Linked DNA regions of Homo sapiens: region 2 is linked to region 1. The links are contacts of gene promoters, found by promoter capture Hi-C in human tissues and cell types (Jung and others, 2019). All regions are on one chromosome and are shown on one strand. The core of a region is centred on a gene start or on the middle of the fragment in contact, and the rest is flanking DNA. Distances in the headings are between cores, read along the strand shown.

Region 1 (6,573 bases), core at 2,817-5,316:
AAGTAAAGGGTTCTTTTACTTCATAGCATTTTTCCCAATTTGTAATTCAGTATTATTTTTGTCACTGTTTAGTATCTCTTTGTCCTATTAGAGAGATAGCTTCATCAGGACAAGGATTTTGATTCTTTAATATTTAGTGCTTGCCACATGCCCTGAACACAGCAGGCATACAGACTAACCAACATACAGTGGCATCGAAGTGAGACACCTACCTCCTCCAGTGCCTAGAGTACATGTCCATGGACCTGTCACTCTCCTCAACACCACCCCTAAGCATGAGGCCCGAAAGCATTGCTAATCCCCTCCTCCAGCCACCAAAACTTAAAGGCCAGGTGTGGTGGCTCCTATCTGAAATCTCAGAACTTTAGGAGACAGCAGCAGGAGGATCACTTGAGGCCAGGAATTTGAGACGAGCCTGGGCAACATAGCTAGACACCATCTGTACTAAAAATTAGCTGGGCATGGTGGTATACCTGTAGTACCAGCTACTAAGGAGGCTGAGGTAGGAGGATCACTTGAACCCAGGAGGTGGAAGCTACAGTGAGCTATAACCACAGCACTGAACTCCAGCCTGAGCAACAGAGTGAGACCCTGCCTCAAAACAATTTCAAAAATAAATAAATAAAAACAAAACTTAGATACCACGTGGTCACCCCAACATGCAAAATCAAGTTTTCCCCTACTGAGAAGAATGGGGACTTGAGAGCTGAGTTACAGAGAGATAATCTGTCTTTTTTTTTTTTTTTTTTTTTTTTGGTTTACATCCTCAAGATCATGACCTGTGAAATTTGAATCTAATACACAAATCATTCCAGAGCAATGTTGCTTCTGCCTACCACGAGTAATTCACTTGGCCACTGGAAGTCAGAACAAGCTTCCCAGAAGAGAGGTACCACTTGGACTACCAATATAAAAGGATGAAAATATCGGAGTGAAGGTGTTCCTTGCATCACTGAGTCCCTGGACAGCCTGTCCACTCATGCTGATATCTGAGCCTAATGCTTCTCTGAATGTTGAGATTTAACTTTGATCCAATGAAACCAGACCAAGAAAGAAGAAACGTCTTTCATTGTTGATAAGGACATGATTTTTCTCACAATTTTATGATTATTTTTCCTTAGCTGTCCTATAATTATCTGCTTATTTGTCTCTTCTCCATGTGCTTAGGGTACAAAGTTGACCAAGACCAAGAATAATGTCTGGGAGCACAATACTGACAGCACAGCTTTAAAAACATGATGAATGCTTTAATACAGGAAATGAGTAGGGGAGAGGCAAGTGTTGCTTGGGTGTTCTTCCAATGCATAGTATCTTCCTTGACACAGTCAGTGCAGCTCTCAGTAGGCAAGTCCCTACATGTTAGAAGATGTTACTTTCTGTGGAATTAAGTGGCAGAACATGCCTTCAATTATTTTCCTTTGCAGAACAACACCAATTTCATTAGTTAGGACAGAGTGCTGGCTGCATTTGAATTCCAAGCAACGATTAGTCTATCACTGTTGGTATAGATTCCAACCAGTCACACCACCTCCTGAAGTTTGTAGGGCAGGTAAATCTTCATCTTAGAATAAAAATCATCTTAGCCAAGTAAGTGTTTTAGAGGAAAGAAGAAAACATAATCGTTTCCATAAGAGTTTTGTTTCTAAAAAAATAAGAAAGGCTCTTTGTTTAGGTGAGCTAATGAAGTTGTTGATAGTTATCAGATGACACTGGAATCTTTACTTGTCAGAATGTGTTCTGTGCACCTCTCGGTGTGGCAACATAGAGAGGGAGATCCTCCAGCAATGCCATTGATATGGTCAGAAACTGCATCTTTCTTTCTCCCTGCTGAGATGGAGTCCTTTGTTCTAGAAAACCCAGGGGGTGCCACTGGGAGTAACCCTTGAGACAGGAACACGAATCTCAACCAATTTCTGGTTGCAGCCTTGAGTCTTACTATTTGCCATAGTGATGCTTAGCAAGGAATGGCAGGTGCACCAGAGCAGCAGAGGACCTAATATCTCCCTTCCTGTTAACTTTTTATAATATTTTATTGTGATCAGTATCAGTTGGGAAGCTACTTGCAGTCACTGAGCCTCAGTTTCTACATCTGTAAACTGGGGATAGTAGCATGGCCCTATTTAATGTGCTCAGCGAAGCCACTGAAAGGAGACAGAAATGTACCAGAATTCCCTGGACTTTTATCCTACTTCTCCTGGGGATTGTCACCCACCTACCCGTGTCTGTCCTTTGTTGCTTTGACGCTGTCACTTCTTTTCTTAGGTACCTCTCTGTAGGGCTCCATTATTCCAGGGATTCCAGAGTTACAGCACATGCATACCTCCATCCAAGCATGTTTATTTGTCTCCTGCTTCACTAGGCTGTCCCCAAGGAACATGTGGCTCCCGGCACATACCTGGCACAACACTGCACATGACATTCACCCACTTGGCCTTGAATCTGACAAGGAATCTGGCATGATGTTCACCTGCTGAGGCCAGGTGCCGAGCAGCCCTGGAGGCTTAGGGGCCAGAGGGATGGGAAAAGGTGTCTTTCTGGGGTGAGTATCAGTTTCTGCAGGAGTGCTGAACCTGAGAAAGAATAAAGAGAGAAGGAAGTGAACAAGCACAGCTTAAACATCATCTGTTTCTACTGAGTTTTAACAACTCTGAGATTTTGTTTGTCATGGAATCCATTTCTCAGGCCAAGCAGACACAGAACTTGGGTGTGAGTGATGATAATGAGCTGATATAATTTTCACACCCTCATCACTGAGATCTCTCCCATCAGGAATGGGTCACAGGGCTCACAGGTGGCAGCAACTGTTATTACAGGCCTCATCTCTACCAGCTCCTGGCACCTGCTCTCCTCCCATTAGAAAATCCTCCACTTGTCAAAAAGGAAGCCATTTGCTTTGAATTCCAATTCCACCCTCAAGAGGCTGGGACCACCTCATTGGAGTCCTTGATGCTGTGTGACCTGCAGTGACCACTGCCCCATTGTTGCTGGCTGAGGTGGTTTGGGTCAACCTGGCCATCTGGGCAGCTGTTCTCTTCTCTTCTTTCTCCCCTACTGTTTCCAGACATGCAGTATTTCCAGAGAGAAGGGGCCACTCTTTGGCAAAGAACCTGTCTAACTTTCTATCTACGGCAGGACTTTTGAAAGCTACAGAGGAAGAAGCACAAATTGATGCTATTCCACTAAGCCATCAGCTCCATCTCATCCATGCCATGTCTCTTTTTTAGGGGTCCTCTTGCCAACAGAATCACAGAGGACAAATCTGAAAGTGCAGAGACAGCAGCTGAGGCACAGCCAAGAGCTCTGGCTGTATTAATGACCTAAGAAGATGGAGTGGTCACCAGAAAGTCAGAGGAAGTGACACACAGGGGCCCAGCAATCTCAGCCAAGTCAACTCCACCAGCCTTTCTGGTCCCCACTGTGTGTACAGCACCCTGATAGGGACCAGAGCCATGAGAGTGAGTAAGACCAGACTATGCCCTTGAGGAGCTCACCTCTGCTAAGGGAAACAGGCCTGGAAACACACAATGGTGGTAAAGAGGAAAGAAGACAATAGAACTGCATGAAGGGGATGGAAAGTGCCCAGGGGAGGAAATGGTTACTTCTGTGTGAGGGGGTTGGTGAGGAAAGACTCTAAGAGAAGGCTCTGTCTGGCTGGGTATGAAAGGATGTGTAGGAGTCTTCTAGGGGGCACAGGCACACTCCAGGCATAGGTAAAGATCTGTAGGCATGGCTTGTTGGGATGAGTTTCAAGTATTCTGGAATGAGGACAGCCATAGAGACAAGAGGAGAGTTAATAGATTTTATGCCAATGGCTCCACTTGAGTTTGTGATAAGAACCCAGAACCCTTGGACTCCCCAGTAACATTGATTGAGTTGTGTATGATTCTACATAGAATATTAACTCAATGGAGGTCAGTGAGTGGTGTGTGTGTGATTATTTGCCAACTGCCGAGGTGGAGAAGCCTCTTCCGACTGCAGGCAGAGCACGGGGGCCCTGCTACTGGCTGCAGCTCCAGCCCTGCCTCCTTCTCCAGCATATAAACAATCCAACAGCCTCACTGAATCACTGCTGTGCAGGGCAGGAAAGCTCCACACACACAGCCCAGCAAACAGCAGCACGCTGCTGAAAAAAAGACTCAGAGGAGAGAGATAAGGAAGGAAAGTAGTGATGGATCTCATCCCAAACTTGGCCGTGGAAACCTGGCTTCTCCTGGCTGTCAGCCTGATACTCCTCTATCTGTGAGTAACTGTTCAGGCTCCTCTTCTCTGTTTCCTTGGACTTGGGGTGCTAATCAGGCCTCTCTTTCCCTTATCTGTTTTGAATAGCAAAAAGGATGTTCAGGCTGGCCGTGGTGGCTCACACCTGTCATCCCAGAACTTTGGGATGCTGAGCAGGTGGACTGCCTGAGGTCAGGAGTTCAAGACCAGCCTGGCTAATATGGTGAAACCCCATCTCTACTAAAATTACAAAAATTAGCTGGGCATGGTAGTGCATAACTGTAGTCCCAGCTACTTGGGTGGCTGAGGCAGGAGAATTGCTTGAACCTGGGAGGCGGAGGTTGCAGTGAACTGAGATCATGCCACTGCACTCCAGCCTGGGTAACAGAGTGAGATTCCATCTCAAAAAAAAAAAAAGAGAAAAAAAAGAAAAAAAAAGATTTTCAAGGAGAAGTAGCTTAAGTGTTGGATGCTACAAACATATAGAGGTTATGATGGATGTTTTGCAGATCTATAAAGGAATAAATAAGCATCTCCCCCATTCATCTTTAGTGGAAAGAAGGGTTTAGGGACAGCATTGATTGAGGATAATCTAATAGACAATGGTTTGTACCCAGCTTACCAAACCAGAATTTGGATTTTACATTTTTCCCTTTAAGTTGCAGGAGAAGAGGGTGAATCTTCTCACCAGTGAGATCCTGGCATCCTAGAGCAGGTGGAGAGAAGAGTCACTCCCTACTGTGTGTACTGGAGGCTTCCCGCCTGTCACATTTTACTTCTAACTCAATTTCACAGTTATTAAGAGTAAGGAATCATGGTCACATGGAAACAGAAAATACAAACCTCGTTTTAATTCTTTCACAGAAAAGTTAGCAATTCAGTGAGTTGTGGTAACATAGTTTCCATCTACTGGCAATTTAACATGAATTGGTGTGGCTTAAATTCATCCTTTTTAAAGCCAGATTTTTTTGGAGATAGACTATTTCCAGCATGTTCCTTCTGAGTGATAAAAGAGGGCTATTAGTTCAGTATTTGTGACAATAAATGTGTATAAGATAACCTCACCTTTCCAGAATAATGTCAGGAATATGAGTCTAATGTACAAATATATATCTCTAGGACAAGACTGCATATGTCTTTTTAAAAATACTTTCCCAAGAGTTTATTTTAATACCCCCATTTCAAATACACCTGCTTAGCAGGTTATCCTAAACTCTCAGGGCTAGAAAGTAAGCAAGACTGTGAGCCAGTGATGATAGCAAAAGCATCCAGGTAGGATCAAGATGAAGTGAGAAAATATTCCTTACCCCTCAGGGTAGAACTCCAAATAGATATTCATGGGTCCTGGCCCCCTAGTGGAGGTCACTTGAAGGACAAACATGTTGGCATCTCATCTGCTTGAAGCCTGGACACAAGGGCACCATCAGTGTCACTCTGTGTGTGGCTGGCCATGTTGTGGGGCTGTCACTACAGATTCTGGCAGTCAGGCAGACAATACCTTAGCCTTAGACGATGCCGGTACAGCCCAGGATTCAGAAGCTATAGTGTAGACCATGCCCTTCTTAGGCCTATACAATTACATGCAATAGATGATGGATTTTTCTGTTAGCCTCTTCATTGTAACAAAAAGCAGCATTACTCTACCAAACAGAGGGGAGCTGGAAAGAAACTAAACAGTTTGCCAAGCACAGCCTCTGCCTTGACGTGGAATCATGTGAATCTAGACACTCACCTAGATCTTTCCTCGGGGGCCAATGCTGCTCACACATTAACTCAATAGTTTGTCCTGGCCTGAGAGATCATGTAACATGTAGAAAGTTTAGAAGCAGAGATTAGTGCCATTGATTTTCCATGGCTGTGACAACAAAGGAAGGAACAGGAGTGGGAAAACCCAAGGCCACCCTGGTTGTGGTAGATGGTGCACACACTTCCACTAACTATTCTGGGGCAAGGATCCAAATGCACTATTGGGCCTGGCTATGCTGTCTCTGCTGGGTTCTCCAAACACGAGCCTCCATGCTGTTTCTTAGTTGTATTTTACCACATATTATCAGAGTCACTGGATTTGTACAGAATGTTTGGAACCTATACTGCCTTAATGGCTACCCTTTAAAGAAGAGAAAACAAGGTCTTAATTCAACTATCTGGAACATTTTATGGTTACTTATGTGGAATACTCCATCTTTTGCTATCAACAGGAAGGTACCTGGCCATTAGAAGGTGCCTGCCTTTCAGCTGAAAGCACATATGAGGCATATGGATCCATTTATACACACCGTACTTTTGAACCACATTTTCCTAATTTGCCTGTCTGGGGCCAAGCTTGTGGGACTAGCAGATTCATGGTTGAATTGA
Region 2 (6,573 bases), core at 1,415-3,914, 42 kb before region 1:
ACCTGATGAACAAATATAATCATTGCCGTCAGAGTTACTGTTATTATTTCTTGCCTTAATGTTACCTCGTTCTCTTGAGCATTCCAGTTCCTCAGTCAATGACTCATCAACCCCTATATCTATAAAGTCACAATCGCTGTGACTTGATTTCTGTTTCACTTTGTAGATATGGAACCCATTCACATGGACTTTTTAAGAAGCTTGGAATTCCAGGGCCCACACCTCTGCCTTTTTTGGGAAATATTTTGTCCTACCATAAGGTGAGTGTTTTTGAGCTCACTCTTTTGCTTCTTATGATTGCCAAGAGCAGCTTAGTTCCATCAGTAAAAATGCTTCTCCTCAGGGGGAAGGTCTGAAGTTTTACACTTTCAGAAACAGTGTGTAGGCATCACCCAGAACATGGCAATGTTTACCCAAGGGCTCTCTTGCTAACTCTCAGGAACCTCAGGTTTGCCTCAGTTGAACAGCCCAAATCTCAGGTAGATCAGCAACCTGATGCTCAGAACTTGATGTGCAAACTTTGTGAGCGCCATAAAGAAGGTTTTCTTTTTGCTCTATGCAGGTTCCCAGGAAGGTACAGTCATACTTAGTTAGTATTAAAAGTAGGAAAAGGACCCCCTGATTGTGACTTGTTATCTGTGTACATGAGAGTCAAACTTTCCTCTCTGTAGCAAGAGCTCTTGAGTAGCCTTTTTTCCCTTCCTTCTGGACAGCTTTGAAACTCAATTTATTAGGGAGCCCAGGTATTTACCTTTGGGTCATTTGCACCTGCTTCAATCCTCTCCGAAAAATGCTAAATTCCCTGAGGGTATCTCCATGGCTCTACCCCAGCTCTTACTCCCCATGACATCTTTTGCAGCTTTGAGAGACAGAACAAAGGGGTTCTGCTTTATTTCTTTTCCTTCAAAGGCTGCACCTTATGGGTGAGTCTGATCACAGACTGGATATAACTGAGATGAGACAGTGGTGGTCAATCAAACTCAGATATTTAAGCACAAAATGAGTTTGTGGGGTTTTTTTTTTACACAAAGGCGGAATCACATGCAAAATCACTAGAAAGGGGATGATTTGATGAAATTATTAAATATTTAATTTTGCTGAATAGAATATAATATGTGCCACGTGGACCGTGAACTTTGGCCGAGCCTTTGTGCCTAACCTAGTCTGATGCTCTGCCCAGGGTCTGGGCCCTGGATGGAAAATTAGGAGCCCATGTCCACATGGCCAGCCGCAGCAGTCAGCTCTTTGGCTTACATCATCTTTCCCACATACCTGAGGCTTGTTTCTCAGATTCTAATTCTCTCAGGTGAGGGCTTTGTTGTCTAATTACTATCCAGGAATTTCATATTTTTTCCCTGTGCAAAAGCAATAATTTCCCCGCCACCTTTTCCAGGTCAACTCTTTAGTAGATGTACCCCCAAGATGCACATTCCTGGGACCTTTGTTTGCACAGTTAAAATGTCACCCCTGAAATGTCGATACAGGAAGGTTTGTTTTTAAGTTTCAGTGAAAACTCTGAGCAAGTGTTGTAATTTGCTGTGTCCGATGTGTAGAGGGGACATTTTCTCAGAACTTCCATGTTAAGCTGGAAAACTGGAAAGTGAGTTCACTTTGTCATTCTGTCACTCGTTCATTTTCTCACTCAACAACATGCCTCATACTTACCTAAATCTGCTAGACTAAAGGAGTTCCCTGGTGTCTGTAACTTTCCAATTCTGCTAGAACTCTAGAGCGAGCTCATGAAATAAATGAAAAGGATGACAAAGAGATAAAACACTGTGCATTCTCTTCTGATGCTAATTCACTTTCCCTTGGCCTCAGTTTCCCCATGTGCCCCTGGAGGTGATCATTCAGGGATTCATGAGATTTTCAAGACAACACATGAAAAAGCAAAAAGACATCAGAAAGACAAAGAGGTACTTAGTATTTATACACAAGGATAAGTCATTCAGTATCCACAACACTTGGAGAGAATTCAAGAGTGATTTTAAATTTCCCTTTTCAAATACCTCCTCTGTTTTCTCTTATTTCCTTTATGACGTCTCCAAATAAGCTTCCTCTAACTGCCAGCAAGTCTGATTTCATTGGCTTCGACTGTTTTCATCCCAATTAGAGGCAGGGTTAAGTACATTAAAAATAATAATCAAATATTATTTTGTTTCTCCTCCCAGGGCTTTTGTATGTTTGACATGGAATGTCATAAAAAGTATGGAAAAGTGTGGGGGTGAGTATTCTGGAAACTTCCATTGGATAGACTTGTTTCTATGATGAGTTTACCCCACTGCACAGAGGACAGTCTCAGCCCAAAGCCTCTTGGGATGAAGCTCTTGTCAACCTAACTACAAACAGAGAGAAGTTCTCTGAAAGAAGAAGATATTTATTTGGGTGTAGAGTATTGCAATGGGAATCTGCATGCCTTTATAAACTATGTGCAAATTCAGGGAAGTAAAGCAAGACAAAGAGGCTCCAAGGAAAATATGAGGAGGATTTCTTATCAGTTTTGAAATAATTATCCTTCGCTACAAAGATCAGTAACAAGGGTGACGCCTCACCAAGGTTGGACAGGCAGTTGCTGGGCAGGTGTCCTTGCAGAAATATTTTTTTTAATGTTGGGATGGCCTTTGTGCAAGCTTGTAGTTTTGCGGAGTCTTTTGTGATAGTTTTGTTATCAGGCACACAAGCATGAGAATCCTCTCTTCATAGCCTTCTTTGATTTATTTGTCAGGGTTTTTACACACACACACACACACACACACACACACACACACACACACAACTAGTGACATCATTTTGGTTCTAACAACATTCACACTGGTTATTGTAAAACTTTTCGAAGGTTGTCCTACCAAGGATCCCATGTGTCACCAGGTGTCAAGTTCTACAGTCTGAACTAGGCTGGGAGCATTGTGATTACTTTTCTCCAGACTTTGGTGGCCCAGGGACTCACAGCATCATGCTCTGTCCAGTGTCTGCCTATTCCCCTCTTCTTTTTTTTTTTCCTTAGGTGCCCTTTTATTACATGTGTTGTCTCAGACCCTTCTAATATGTGCTCATAAATACATCATATCATCTCCTTCCCACATCAATTCACTTTCAATTAAAAGCCAAAACTCTTTCATTTAGACTTTGGATTTAAAGTGCTTTTGAATGAAGGGTTGAGAGATAATAGAGAAATAGATTGGCAAACCATTTATACTCTGCTGTTGTTGTTTTTTAATTTTATCTGCAAGTGTGGAACTTTTCATTCTGTTTTGTTATTAAATTTAAGCCAAGACTTTTTAATAGAAGGGTATATAAGCATTTCTTTGTCTATACCTTCCTGCTGAATTTGAAGAAATGCTGAATATTCTTAACCACTGGCGGGCTGATGGACTGTGATTTTATTTTATTTTTTATTTTTAGTTTTTTAAATTATACTTTAAGTTCTGGGTTACATGCATAGAATGTGTAGTTTTGTTACATAGGTATACACGTGCCATGGTGGTTTGCTGCACCCATCAACCTGTCACCTACATTAGGTATTTCTCCTAATGCTATCTCTCCCCTAGCCCCCCACCCAACAACAGGCCCCAGTGTGTGATGTTTCCCTCCCCGTGTCCATGTGTTCTCATTGTTCAACTCCTACTTAGGAGTGAGAACATGTGGTGTTGAGTTTTCTGATCTTGTGATAGTTTGCTGAGAATGATGGTTTCCAGCTTCATCCTTGTCCCTGCAAAGGACATGAACTCATTGTTTTTTTATGGCTGCATAGTATTCCATGGGGTATACGTGGCACATTTTCTTTATCCAGTCTGTCACTGATGGACATTTGGGTTGGTTCCAAGTCTTTGGTATTGTGAATAGTTCTGCAATAAACATATGTGTGCATGTGTCTTTATCATAGAATGATTTATGCTTTGGGTATATGCCCAGTAATGGGATTGCTGGGTCAAATGGTATTTCTAGTTCTAGATCCTTGAGGAATCACCACACTGTCTTCCACAATGGTTGAACTAATTTACACTCCCACCAACAGTGTAAAAGTGTTCCTATTTCTCCACATCCTCTCCAGCATCTGTTGTTTCCTGACTTTTTAATGATCACCATACTACCTGGCATGAGATGGTATCTCATTGTGGTTTTGATTTGCATTTCTCTAATGACCAGTGATGATGAGCATTTTTTCACATGTCTGTTGGCTGCATAGATGTCTTCTTTTGAGAAGTGTCTGTTCATATCCTTTGCCCATTTTTTGATGGGGTTGTTTGCTTTTTTTCTTGTAAATTTGTTTAAGTTCTTTGTAGATTCTGGATGTTAGCCCTTCGTCAGATGGATAGATTGCAAAAATTTTCTCCCATTCTGTAGGTTGCCTGTTTGCTCTGATGATAGTTTCTTTTGCTGTGTAGAAGCTCTTTAGTTTAATCATATCCCATTTGTCAATTTTGGCTTTTGTTGCCATTGCTTTTGGTGTTATATTTATGAAGCCTTTGCCCATGCCTGTGTCCTGAATGGTATTGCCCAGGTTTTCTTCTAGGATTTTTATGGTCCTAGGTCTTACATTTAAGTCTTTAATCCATCTTGAGTTAATTTTTGTATAAGGTGTAAGGAAGGGGTCCAGTTTCAATTTTCTGCATATGGCTAGGCAGTTTCACCAACACCATTTATTAAATAGGAAATCTTTTCCCCATTGCTTTTGTGTGTCAGGTTTGTCAAACATCAGATGGTAGTAGATGCATGGTGTTATTTCTGAGGCCTCTGTTCTGTTCCATTGATCTATATTTCTGTTTTGGTACCTGTACCATGCTGTTTTGGTTACTGTAGCCTTTTAGTATAATTTGAAGTCAGGTAGCGTGATGCCTCCAGTTTTGTTCTTTTTGCTTAGGATTGTCTTGTCTATGTGGGCTCTTTTTTGGTTCCATATGAACTTTAAAGTAGTTTTTTCCAATTCTATGAGGAAAGTCAGTGGTAGCTTGATGGAAATAGCATTGAATCTATAAATTACCTTGGGCAGTATGGCCATTTTCATGATATGGAGTCTTCCTACCCATGAGCATGGAATGTTCTTCCATTTGTTTGTGTCCTCTTTTATTTCATTGAGCAGCGGTTTGTAGTTCTCCTTGAAGAGGAGAACTTCACATCCCTTGTAAGCTGGATTCCTAGATATTTTATTCTCTTTGTAGTAATTGTGAATGGGAGTTCACTCATGATTTGGCTCTCTGTTTGTCTATTATTGGTGTGTAGGAATGCTTGTGATTTTTGTAAATTGATTTTGTATCCTGAGACTTTCCTGAAGTTGCTTATCAGCTTAAGGAGTTTTGGGGCTGAGACGATGGGGTTTCCTAAATATACAATCATGTCATCTGCAAACAGAGACAATTTGACTTCCTCTTTTCCTAATTGAATATCCATTTCTTTCTCTTGCCTGATTGCCCTATTCAGAACTTCCGACACTATGTTGAATAGGAGTGGTGAGAGAGGACATCCTTGTCTTGTGCCGGTTTTCAAAGGGAATGCTTCTAGTTTTTGCCCATTCAGTATGATATTGGCTGTGGGTTTGTCATAAATAGCTCTTACTATTTTGAGATACGTTCCATTGATACCTAGTTTATTCAGAGTTTTTAGCATGAAAGGCTGTTGAATTTTGTCAAAGGCCTTTTCTGCATCTATTGAGGTAATTATGTGGTTTTTGTCATTGGTTCTGTTTATGTGATGGATTACATTTATTGATTTGGTATTTTGAACCCAGCCTTGCATCCCAGGGATGACGCTGACTTGATCCTGGTGGATAAGCTTTTTGATGTTTTGCTGGATTTGATTTGCCAGTATTTTATTGAGGATTTTCGCATCGATATTCTTTAGGGATATTGGACTAAAATTCTCTTTTTTTGTTGTGTCTCTGTCAGGCTTTGGTATCAGGAGATACTGGCCTCATAAAATGAGTTAGGGAGGATTCCCTCCTTTTCTATTGTTCAGAAAAATTTCAGAAGGAATGATAACAGCTCCTCTTTGTATCTCTGGTAGAATTCAGCTGTGAATCCATTTGGTCCTGGACTTTTTTTGGTTGGTAGCCTATTAATAATTGCCTCAATTCAAAACCTATTATTGGTCTATTCAGAGATTCAACTTCTTCCTGGTTTAGTCTTGGGAGGGGGCATGTGTCCAGGAATTTATCTATTTCTTCTAGATTTTCTAGTTTATTTGCATAGAGGTGTTTATAGTATTCTCTGATGGTAATTTGCATTTCTGTGGGATCAGTGGTGATATCCTTTTTATCATTATTTATTGCATCTATTTGATTCTTCTTTTTTCTTTATTAGTCTTGCTAGCAGTCTATCTATTTTGTTGACCTTTTTCAAAAAACCAGCTCCTGGATTCACTGATTTTTTGAAGGGTTTGTTGTGTCTCTATCTCCTTCTGTTCTGCTCTGATCTTAGTTATTTCTTGTCTCCTGCTAGCTTTTGAATTTGTTTACTCTTGCTTCTCTAGTTCTGTTAATTGTGATGTTACTGTGTCAATTTTAGATCTTTCCTGCTTTCTCTAGTGGGCATTTAATGCTATAAATTTCCCTCTACACACTGCTTTAAATGTGTCCCA

What was found. Contacts are between HindIII fragments. The study calls those that stand out against the background at their distance.
Region 2: a contact is called between a fragment that was not itself captured here and the fragment with the promoter of CYP3A7 in region 1, in 2 of the 25 tissues and cell types used here (bladder and pancreas).

The regions. Positions count from the first base shown.
Region 1 is chr7:99,732,689-99,739,261 of GRCh38, reverse strand. CYP3A7 (cytochrome P450 family 3 subfamily A member 7) reads left to right here and starts at 4,066. Exons shown (of 13, transcript NM_000765.5): 1 at 4,066-4,239. The coding sequence starts at 4,169. It overlaps CYP3A7-CYP3A51P (CYP3A7-CYP3A51P readthrough), which reads left to right and starts at 4,066. Exons shown (of 15, transcript NM_001256497.3): 1 at 4,066-4,239. The coding sequence starts at 4,169. It also overlaps a transcript of ZSCAN25 not described here. RefSeq lists enhancers at 229-240, 1,332-1,361, 1,156-1,396, 1,707-2,906, 3,891-3,921 and 1 more and promoters at 3,927-4,169, 1,156-4,169. The HindIII fragment of the contact is 8,535 bases long and covers 1-6,573 here.
Region 2 is chr7:99,773,679-99,780,251 of GRCh38, reverse strand. It overlaps CYP3A4 (cytochrome P450 family 3 subfamily A member 4), which reads left to right. Exons shown (of 13, transcript NM_017460.6): 2 at 167-260; 3 at 2,172-2,224. Among named protein-coding and RNA genes, the nearest start is that of CYP3A4, 7.2 kb to the left of the region's middle. The HindIII fragment of the contact is 3,073 bases long and covers 1,128-4,200 here.